Regions from separate parts of the Homo sapiens genome. Here regions 1 and 2 are each linked to region 3. Evidence: promoter capture Hi-C in 16 types of primary human blood cells and fetal thymus (Javierre and others, 2016). All regions are on one chromosome and are shown on one strand. Each heading gives the region's core, a stretch centred on a gene start or on the middle of the fragment in contact. The rest is flanking DNA. Distances are from core to core; before and after follow the strand shown. Region 1 overlaps ARHGAP24 (Rho GTPase activating protein 24). Region 2 overlaps MAPK10 (mitogen-activated protein kinase 10). Region 3 holds the start of ARHGAP24 (Rho GTPase activating protein 24).

What was found. The method cuts DNA at HindIII sites, captures the fragments that hold promoters and counts their contacts. A CHiCAGO score of 5 or more calls a contact.
Region 1: a fragment that was not itself captured here is called in contact with the fragment with the promoter of ARHGAP24 in region 3 in 1 of 17 cell types (total B cells); the score reaches 7.5 in total B cells.
Region 2: a contact is called between a fragment that was not itself captured here and the fragment with the promoter of ARHGAP24 in region 3, in 1 of 17 cell types (endothelial precursors). The highest score is 7.2, in endothelial precursors.

What each region holds. Positions count from the first base shown.
Region 1 is chr4:85,995,676-85,999,300 of GRCh38, forward strand. The region is part of intron 9 of ARHGAP24 (Rho GTPase activating protein 24); the gene reads left to right. Among named protein-coding and RNA genes, the nearest start is that of MAPK10-AS1, 120 kb to the right of the region's middle. The HindIII fragment of the contact is 1,252 bases long and covers 1,185-2,436 here.
Region 2 is chr4:86,044,605-86,048,223 of GRCh38, forward strand. The region is part of intron 11 of MAPK10 (mitogen-activated protein kinase 10); the gene reads right to left. Among named protein-coding and RNA genes, the nearest start is that of MAPK10-AS1, 73 kb to the right of the region's middle. The HindIII fragment of the contact is 190 bases long and covers 1,156-1,345 here.
Region 3 is chr4:85,472,696-85,476,425 of GRCh38, forward strand. It overlaps ARHGAP24 (Rho GTPase activating protein 24), which reads left to right and starts at 2,455. Exons shown (of 10, transcript NM_001025616.3): 1 at 2,455-2,864. The HindIII fragment of the contact is 5,990 bases long and covers 1,745-3,730 here.

The sequences.
Region 1 (3,625 bases), core at 561-3,060, 520 kb after region 3:
TCGTAACTACCAGAGAGGGCTCAGTAGCCTCCTACTGTGGGACAGGATCACACTGAGGGTGACATATGCTGGCTCCAAAGTCAAAGAAACACAAGTTTGCTCCATCATTTATGAGCTTTGTGACTGTGTGCAAGTTAGCTTCATCTCTGTGAGCTTTGATTCCCTAATGTAAACAATTTAAATACTAGTAGTATCTACCTCAAAAGCACATAAGAAGTGATTGAACATTTCCCTGGTACAGAATAGGCTCAATAATGTCATCTTTGATTATTATTAAATAGATAGATTTGCATTAGAGGGCTGGAAGGAGAGGGGCTGTGAGGAGATGGACAGAGCATTAGGAGCCTGTTAGTTTTCACTAACAAGAAAAGGATGAAACTAGGGTAAAAAAAGTAGAAGTAAATAGACCTCCATGTTTTATTCTTTCAATCATTGAATGTTGAGAGAGTGCCTTCTATCTGCCAGGCTCTGTTCCAGACGCTGAGGATTCAGATGAGCTGAGAGAGGCCATAAGAGCCAGGTGACATAGGGGATTGACAGGCTGATTTTCAGCCTTTGACTTTTACTCTGAGATAGAAATCCATGGAGGTTTTTGAGAAGAGGGGTGACGTGAAGTATGTTCACATGAATAAGGAAGACTGTAGCCTAAATGAGGAAAAAAGAATATGATTTATAAAGAAGCAATTATGCTAAAACCTAATTATATCAATGTGCATCTTCTCATAAAATGATCAAAGTAGGAGTAGCTCCTCTAGTGTTCTCAGTCCCAGTTTCAGGCTGTGTGATTTGGACAACCCTTCCTCCATGGTGTGCTAGGATCCTCAGTTGGTTGTTAAGTTGGCTTTAATTTACCTTAATATGTTTCCTATCCATTCATCAATTATCAGACAAAAAGATAACGTACTTTCAGAAGCTATGGCAAAATAAATATTAAAAAATACTACTTATAAATGAGATTGAAAAATTACTTCCTTGGAAAGTATTTTTTTGGTAAGTTTCACTGAGTGGAATTGTGGTTTGAATTTTTCTATATAATGGAGAGTGACAGGAGATTTAAAGAAAAATATAGGGTCATTATCTTAAAAGGTTACTCTTCTTTCTGAATGTAGTTTTTGGAACCACTATGTATTGGAATTCTGAATTACTGCCAATCCATGATGATAAATTAGCATTTCACACTGGGAAGCTTATATTTTGAGGCAAGGGGTCACACTTTAAATGTAGTAGAAAAAGAAAAAAGTTATCACTATGAATTTGCAGATGGATACATTCATTTCTGAGGATGTTGCTGATGCATATATGTTCTGAGATCTACGGTATATTTCAGAGATTTTGATAAACTGATAGAACTTCCCAATAGAGGTCATCTTAATGGGCCATTTCAGTGTCACATTCTTACCCTCATGACAGGCCAAGGGAGAGCTCTGCAGTAGGGTGGAGGGTGGGGGACCGCTCGTGGCCTAGCCATGAAATTATAGAAAGTTAACTGTTCTGGCTAAATTTTGATCATTTCTGTTTAGAGTTATTCATTTTTCTTTAAATTCCTTTATAACTTTACCCCACAAGCATTGAAGGTAGATGGATGGATAGATAGGTAGGTAGGTAAATAGGTAGGTAGGTAGGTAGGTAGATGATAGATAGATAGATAGATGATAGATAGATAGATAGAGAGATAGATAATAGATAGATGATAGATATAGATAGATAGATAGATAGATAGATAGATAGATAGATAGATAATATTTTACTTTGTTTAATTATCAATAAGATATATGTTTAAATCATTTATAACTTTACCCCACAAGTATTGAGGGTGGATGGATGGATAGGTAGGTAGGTAAATAGGTAGGGAGGTAGGTAGACAGATAGATAATATTTTACTTTAATTATCAGTCAGTGAGATATATGGTTTTTAGTTTTGAAACATATATTCTTTTTCCCTCTCCAAATTGGTTTCTAACTTTTTCTTTTCTTATTTTTTTTTATGTTTTATTTTTTGACAGAGTCTCACTCTGTTGCCCACGCTGGAGAGTGCAGTGATGCAATCTTGGCTCACTGCAACCTCTGCCTCCCAAGTTGAAGCGATTCTCCTGCCTCAGCCTCCTGAGTAGCTTGGATTACAGATGCATGCCATCATGACTGGATAATTTTTTTTTTTCTTGTGGAGACAGGGGTTTTACCATGTTGGCCAGGCAGCTCTTGAGCTCTTGACCTCAAATGATCCACCCACCTCGGCCTCCCAAAGTGCTGGGGTTACAGGCATAAGCCATGGCACTCAGCTAGTTTCTAACAATTTTCTTAGGAAATATTGTATTGTGGTCAGAGAAGTTCATCTGGATGATATTAATTATTTGGTCTATTAAAACTATTCCCTTATTACTGGATTGGGATTCTATATATGACCAAGAGATCAAGTCTGTTAATCAGGCTATTCAAAGCTTCTGTATTTCTTCTCATTTTTATCAGCTATATCAATAATTTTTGAGAAAGATACTTTAAAATTTCCTATCAGTATTCTGAGTTTATCAGTTTCTTTTTATAATTTTGTCATATTTTATATTGAACAATTTGAGGCTCTACTACTAGGTGAATAGAAGTTTGGAGTTGTTCATATCTCCCTGAAGAATTGATCCTTTTATCATTAATTAGTGCCTATTTTTCATTGTAATAATGCTTTTTACCTGAAACTCTATTTTTTCTGATATTAATATTGTCCTACCATCTTCCTTTGATTAGTAACTTCCTGATATGTCTTTTCCTTTATTTAACTTTCAAACTTTGTTTGATGATTTGATCTAACAACTTACATCTTTACAATTCTGGAATATTTTTTTCATCATCTTTTTGTCTATTTCATCTTCCCACCTTCTCAATTTTCTCTTTCCAGAACCCTTATTAAGCTATGTTTGACCTTGTTAATCTATCCTCTGTCTTTGTTAACTTCTTTTTTCCATATTAAATTTCTATAATTATCATTTTTGAGGCATTCTAGGTAACTTTTCTCAGACCTGTTTTGTAGCTTACTAATACTCTGATGAGCTAATTCAATTCTGATACTTCCCCAGGCCCATGATTGGAGATTTTGTAGTCTCTTCTTCATAAAAACAGTTAATGTTCCAAGCTCTCAGTTAAATTACTTGTAGTTTTCTGCCTGCCTAATACTGGAGGCCTCACCTTCTGTCCCCATGTGAAAAAGAAAAACCTAGACCCAAGCTCTGTGGCCTCTATCCAAGACTAATATCCTTCGTGTGCTTCTACTTATTGTTCTATATTTCGGTTTCTTCCTTGGTTCTGATGGCTGAAGCTGCTGTTTTATTTTAACCTTGATGATGTATTTTAAAAATATATTTCTTAAAACTTTTCCAGCACTTTTATATGTTTGCATTGGGAGGGATTTCTTCTGTATTCAACTTAGTCCTTTTCATTCCTGGAAGTTTCCCACAAGCACCTGATACATACAAATGTGTCAATATATTGTTTTGTAAGGGTTGTCCTTCTCAGTATTTTAATTTCAATTTCTTCCAAAATTTTGGCTCTAAAATAGCTTTGGAAAACAAAGAGAATATATTGTAGAATAATTCTGAGTGGAAACCAGCATAGTACCAACTTTTCATGTAAAAATGTG
Region 2 (3,619 bases), core at 1-2,500, 570 kb after region 3:
TATCATATACTATGATTTTAAAGAACAGGACAAAGAAATTTGTGAATTGTAATCAAAGTGGACACAAGATTTGTGTCTCATAATCAAATGCAGTCCGTAGACTAAAGTGAGCAGGGAGAATCTCTGAGCCTCATAATGCGTCACAGGTTTTCTGAAAGGAACAATGGAAAGAGCACTGAAGCACCATTGACTCTGGCACTAGTAAGATGAGTGACCTTGAGCAAGTCACTCAGTTTGCAATGAAAGATTTTCATCTACTGCTTTATTCAAGAGAAACTAGTTCCAAATGTTCAACAAATATCATACCAGGTAATTCAACAAAACTTTCTTAAGTACTTGCAATGCGAAAAGCATGGAATTATAATGTGTTATAAATGGAAAGCACTAATGTTGCTTAGAGACATCATAGCATTAGGTGACCAGAGGAACCTTTGAAAGCTAGTAATGCAAATTTTAATTATGATCTGAACTGAGTGTAATTAGAAAGCTTAATTACATAATGCTCCAGTGGTTTGGCAAAGAAGTTGAATTCAGTTTTCTCTATTTTTCATTCTGTTCTGTAGTTTTCTCAGATTTATTTATTAGCTCTACACCATCAAAAAGTGTAATCATGTCTTGAAAATGAAATTTCTCTTTCCTGCTCCTTGGAAATTAAAATTTTCTATGGTTCTTTAACTGAAAAGTTTCAGTAATTGCACCACCAATCACCCAGTGCCTTGGTCAGGAATCTTTCTTTCTTCATTCGTTCATTTAACACATATTTATTAACCCTCTACCATATGATATTACTCATCTTTGAATTCCACCTCCCTTAAATTCCAAATTTAATTATTTACAATTCATGTCAATTATTAGCTTCTAAACATCTCTTGAATATTCTGCCCATGTCTACAGTGATTTAGATTACTACAGATCTATCCTCCTGCCTTCTAGCTCCCTTTTCTCAACTCCAGTCCCACACTGCAGACAGTGGCCCTTTGAAACTTCAAATCTGCTAATGCTATTGCCCCACTTCCTAGTGAATGGCTTCCCTTCACCCTAGGATAGCATGCATGGTACATGACAATGCTTGGGAACTCCTTCCTTATCTGGTCCCTGCTTACCAGCCCAAAATAATTTCTCACCCTTCTCCATTAAGTCACTCAGAAAGCTTAAAGCTTTGCAATTCTCTCCACCCTCTCTTGACCCTGGGATTTTTGCATATACCCTTTCTTCTGCTTGCCTTTCTTCACTTGGATAATTTCTTTTTTAGCCCTTCATGTTCCTGTTTGAAAATTAATCACTCCAAGCAGCCTTCTGTAACCCACATTACTGGGTTATTTTTATGTGTTTCCAATGTACAATAAGCTTAAAATTTGGAATACGTATCATCAACATTTACTTATTTATCTTCTCACTAGACCATGGGACAAAGAATTGAGAATAAAAGACCTAGGAATCCAACTTACAAGGGATGTGAAGGACCTCTTCAAGGAGAACTACAAACCACTGCTCTCTATTTGTCTGTTATTCGTGTATAAGAATGCTTGTGATTTTTGTACATTGATTTTGTATCCTGAGACTTTGCTGAAGTTGCTTATCAGCTTAAGGAGATTTTGGACTGAGATGATGGGGTTTTCTAAATATGCAATCATGTCATCTGCAAACAGGGACAATTTGACTTCCTGTCTTCCTATTTGAATACGCTTTATTTCTTTCTCTTGCCTGACTGCCCTGGCCAGAACTTCCAATACTATGTTGAATAGGAGTGGTGAGAGAGGGCATCCTTGTCTTGTGCTGGTTTTCAAAGGGAATGTTTCCAGCTTCTGCCCATTCAGTATGATATTTGCTATGGGTTTGTCATAAATAGCTGTTATTATTTTGAGATTTTGGGCTGAGACAATGGGGTTTTCTAGATATACAATTGAAAATCTAGAAGAAATGGAAGCACAGTATATAGTACATAGTAGATATCCAACAAGTATGAACCATTGATGAAGAACAATTATTTGCATTCAAAAATCTACGATATATTAACTCGGAAAAATTGGTCAGGTAAAGAGATGAAATAAATTATGACATGTCTGACATTACTCAAATAATTTTTAAAAAGTAGATTCCAGCTTTTGATATACACATATTAGCCACACAATCATGGGCAATGTGCTTAACATCCATTAACATCCTGAGCTTTAGTGTCTTCAATTCTAAACACAGATACATTCATTCAGCAAATATTGATTATATGACTACTAAGGGCCAGACAGTGTTCTAGGTAGTTGGGATACAGCAGTGCCCCAAAGAGTCACTGTCTCTCTTTTTACGCATCTTAAATTCTAGTTGATGAGACAGATAATAAAAAGAGATATATAATGTCAAACAGTGACACATAGAGAAAAAAGATTAAGAGGCTAGAGTGTAACAGAGTACTATTCTATTTTTTCTTTTTAGTTTTTTTCTTTTTGTTTTTGTTTTACTTTTTAAACTATTATTAGTATTATTTTTACAAACACTTGTACCAAGGGCTGACTTTCAATAGATCACAGCAAGGATCCCCTCTGCTACATATGAAACCCTGACCCAGAAGCAGGTCATCTACTTATGTTTTAGTGCCAGGTTACACACGAATGTGTGTTACATGACGGGCAAGGGGGCGGCCGAAGAGTACTATTTTAGAAAGGATGGTCATAAAAGGCTTCTTTGAGAAGGTAACATTTGAGCAGAGATTTGAATGAAGTAAAGGAGGGAGCAATGTGAATATCTGGAGGAAGAATGTCCCAGGCAGAAGGAAATACAATGCAAAGACCCTAAAGGGGGAGCTTGCTTGGTGTGGTAAGGAAACCGCAAGGATGCCATATACTGGTGCAGAGTGGAAAAGGGAAGCCTAAAGGTGATATCAGAAAAGTAGGCAGGAGCCAGACTAAGTAGAGCCATGTTTTCCAAACTGCAGTCATGAAAACAAATTGGTGTCATCACTAGCACCTTTTAGTGTAACTAAGAAGAGTAAAATGAGATAGAAAATATCAGTGTATGGTTTTTCTTTTGTGTGTGTGTACGTGTGTGTGTGCACGCACGTGCACTTGTACACGCATGCTGGGTTGCAATGTAAAACACCCTTCTTACTATGGGTTATGATAAAATTTGAAACAACACTGTGGTAGGGCCTTGCAAGCCATGATAAGTACTTTGAGTTTTGTTATAAATATGATAAGAAGCCATTGGAAGATGGGAAGGTGTTAGCTGAGGAATTATGTGAATGTAACGTGTTTTACATTTTAAAAGGAAAATTCTAGGCATTCTGCAGAATGGACCACAAGGGACAAGAGTGGTGCTGAGAGATAAGTCCCAGAATATTACATGGTCCAGGGTAGAAATGATGTTTGCATAGATGAAAGGATGAGAAGTGATCTGAGTCAAGGTATATTTAGAAAGTAAGTTCAGTTAAGAGTTGTTGAGGATAGTCATCATTTTCTAGAGTTTTTATGAGGCTTAAATAAGATTGGATATCAGAAAGGGTTTTATAAACACTAGAGAAGTGCTCAGCAGAGTACAGCTGAGTTCAATTCAAAGGGCATTTACTGACCATACACTATGCACCTGCCATTACTCTCACTGTTTTCTCTGCACTCGGTAGATAAAA
Region 3 (3,730 bases), core at 1,205-3,704:
AAGGTGTCTAGGACCTGAAGATCCTGGAAAGTTAGCCCTTATCCTTGAATCATTTCTGGGTTTTGTAGAGTTTGTTTGAAGCACACCTTTAACTCAGAATTGAGGTTGACTGATAAAACTCAGCTTTAAGTAACCCTCTGGGCAAGTTCTGAGCAGAGATCCAGTGAGCTGAATGTCAGGCACCACCTCCCTGGAGTCTGTATCAGTCACATCAGCATTCTCCTCTGATTAGAATCAGGTTTCAAGGGTCTTGTTCAAGAGTTTATTCTCTCCTTTAAAGATGCCACAATACGTATAAGGAATGTCTCTTGGTCCCAACTAATCTACAATAAGAGAGGAGCAGTATAGTCAGAGGCCAGAAAACAACGCAGTTTCTAGTTCAGGTTATATTCTCTTGGAACAGACTCCTTGCTGAGGGGCTTCTAGAAAAGGAATGCAATGGTCCACCTCTTTCTAAGTAGGAGGGGAAGAAGGGGCTTGTATTGGTGGATATAACTCCTTTCCTATCCTCTCAACTGTCTAATCCCCAAGTGACAACCATCCTCTCCTTCTGTTGTACTTTCTAGCTTAAGATAATCACATATATCACACACACCAATGAAGTGCTATCAGTTGGAAAGGGTGGAGACAGAACCAGAAGATGGGAAGGAAAAGGCCTTGAACACAGCCTGTGTGTGTATTAGAGGTGTGTCTTAATCTTTTGGACTAGGGACTACCCAGTAACCACCCTGAGTTCAGTTTTGTATCACTTTGAGACTAAACTGCTGTGGTAATATTTGTTAGACCCTGAAATAAATTACTGACATGACAGTTTCCTTGTTTTTTTAAATGTCCCCATCTTGAATCATAATTATTGGTACTTGTCTTCCTGAGGCTTTTGAGTCCATCAAATGTGTGCAAATTTCATTTGGGTTAATGTTATTTTCCAGCTTTCATCTGAAACTGCCCATCAGCATTCACCTGCTAGGGTGTTGCTAGAACATGTAAGGCCATGTGGGTTGATGAAGGTAATTTATTCCCACCAATTGGAAAATAAGCTACATTACTTCTAGCTTAGGAATTCCATACATATTTTTAAAATGAAATATGAAACGCAATTTTTTCCCCACACAAATTAATTTGATTCATTAAAGGGCTGAGAATTCTCCCACCAGAAAATCAAGTTTATAGTAGGACCTCAGCATGGGATGGGGTAGATTCGTTTCTCCAAGAACTTGGAGAAAGAGGACAAAAAGGAAAAACATATCAGTGTCCACTCAGCCTTTTATTTTTGGTGTTTCTAAAACTAAACATTTGCTCTTCTTCCATATCCCTCTCTCACTGGAGATCCCTAGTGAGGACACCCCCATTCTGTGTCTTAAGGATATCTGGTGATGATTTCTAAAAGAGAGTTTCTTTTATTAGTAGTAGCAGTAGTAATTGTTCGAGACGGGGGTGTCACTCCGTCACCTAGGCTGGAGTGCGCTGGCACAATTATAGCTCACTGCAGCCTTGACCTCCTGGGCTCAAGGGATTTTCCCGCTTCAGCCTCCTGAGTAGCTGGGACTACAGACATACGCCGCCACGCCCAACTTTTTTTTTATTTTTTTAATTTTTTTTTTATAGAGACAGGAGTCTCATTATGTTGCCAATTTTGGTCTGAAACCCCTGGGCTCAAGCGATCCTCCTGCCTCAGCCTTCCAAAGTGCTAGGATTGCATGACTGATCCACTGTAAGTGGGTTTCTAAAACAGAGATCTTTACAAAGCTTTTTGAAATAATTTGACTCAGCATGCCAGGTAACCAGAACTGTAAGATCACAATTTGAAACAGACATTGTGGTGATGGTGGGAAGAGACGGCCTGCATCAAAACAATGTTTACTAGTTTGTCCTTTTGTCCCATATTGTGTAACTCCGAGAGTTCTTACACCACCGTAAGAAAGTAATTATACTTTGAATTTCTCTAAGGCTCTAGTTAGAGAGCATCCATCTAAATGTGCATTTCCAGGAATATTGCTTTAATGGCCCAGGTAATTCTAATTGGAGAAATAAAATGTTAGCGAGACAGAGTTGGTAGAAGCAAGTAAAACCGGTGTATGGGGTTTGGCCAATGAAATGCAGAGCTCCTTGAGGGCAGGAGACATGTATTCACCAACCTTCTCGCGCCCACAGCCCCAGATCTGTGGCCAACAAGTATCTATGATGCACTTGAAAGGAACGAGCGATGCCAGATGCGGAGGAACCAGGCAGGGCGCATTCTGTCAGTGGCGCCAGGCGGTGTAGCTCCAGCTCTCAGATAACCCAGGCTTTGGGAGGGCGGGGCTCCTGCCGGCCTCCCCTGTAGTGCGGCTCGAGTCCTGTGAAGCTACCAGTTGCCAAATGAAATCTGAAACCTCGAGCTGTGTCTGAGGGTTGGCCCCACTCAGTTGTTCCAGCCTCTTGTACTGTATATTTACACATTCACACACAATCACCCTTTCTAACTTCTGGGACTCTTTGCGCAACTGCTAGGATTTCTCAAGTGCATGTGGCAACACAGCCCAGCTCCGGGTGGAAACCAGCAGGGCTCTGGAGGGGCTCGGAGACCAGGGGAGCTGTCAAGGCTGCGGCGGGGACCAGAGAGGAGCCTGGCGGGGGTGGCTGGGTGGCTGGGGGAATCCCCCCAACTTCCCATCGCAGGCGCAGCTCTCTCGGCCGCCTATTTCCTCCGAAACCCGCGCTGCGGAGCAGCCCAGTGCATAGAGTTCAACACTTCCCCTTGTTGTGGAAAGTAAAGGAGCCTCACTACCACCTTTTTTTCTTTGCGTTTTCTTACTGCTGGTCCTGGGAGCCTTTTCCTTCGGAGCAGCAGCCCTGTCCGGCATCTGTCTTGAGCTCCCAGCAAGGTAGGTGATGCGGTCGCGAGGAAGTGCGCGGAGCTACCGCGGGAAGGACGGACGCGGCTGCCTGCGCCAGGGGAGGGGGCTGCGGGGGGCGGGGAGGGGGCTGCGGGGGGCGGGGAGGGGGCTGCGGGGGGCGGGGAGGGGGCTGCGGGGGGCGGGGAGGGGGCTGCGGGGGGCGGGGAGGGATCGCAGGAATCCCGTGCTGATGTAGCCTGTCTGTGTTTGTGTGTGTGTGTGCGCGCGCGCGCATGTTTGTGCCGGGAGACAGCAAGCTGGTAGTATGTCTTTCTGGCTTTAAAAATAGATGGAATTAATAAAAACCCTTTGTACAATTCAATTTCCTCTCTTGGTATCCATCCTCCCCTTCCCCTTGTTTGTTTCCTCTAGTATCTTATAGGAGTTCCCTATGTAACAGGCGCACAAAGATAGGTTTTAATAATAAGCATATATATTTGCAAAAATATATATTTTATATGTATAAAATATGTTTTAAAATATTTATAAATATATTACATATTAGAAATATATATTATAAAATATATACATATATTTGTAAACACAAAACGTTAGGGAATCTTTGGTGAATTTGAAGCCACTCAAAAGATTTTGTCCAAATGTTTTTAAAAATAACATTTAATGATAAACATGTAATATGGTCTCGTTTTTAGAAAATACTTAAGACTACATTTATTTTATACGTACCCAAATAGAAGGGAGACAATGTTACTCTGAATTCCTTAGATAGATTTTCAGCATCAACCAGTAATAGGGAGCCCAGACTTCTTTGTAGACTATATCTCGTTTAATTCATTTGAATTAAACAAGTAATTTCTCCAAGTAATTTCTGTTTCCAGCACATTTTATGTTAC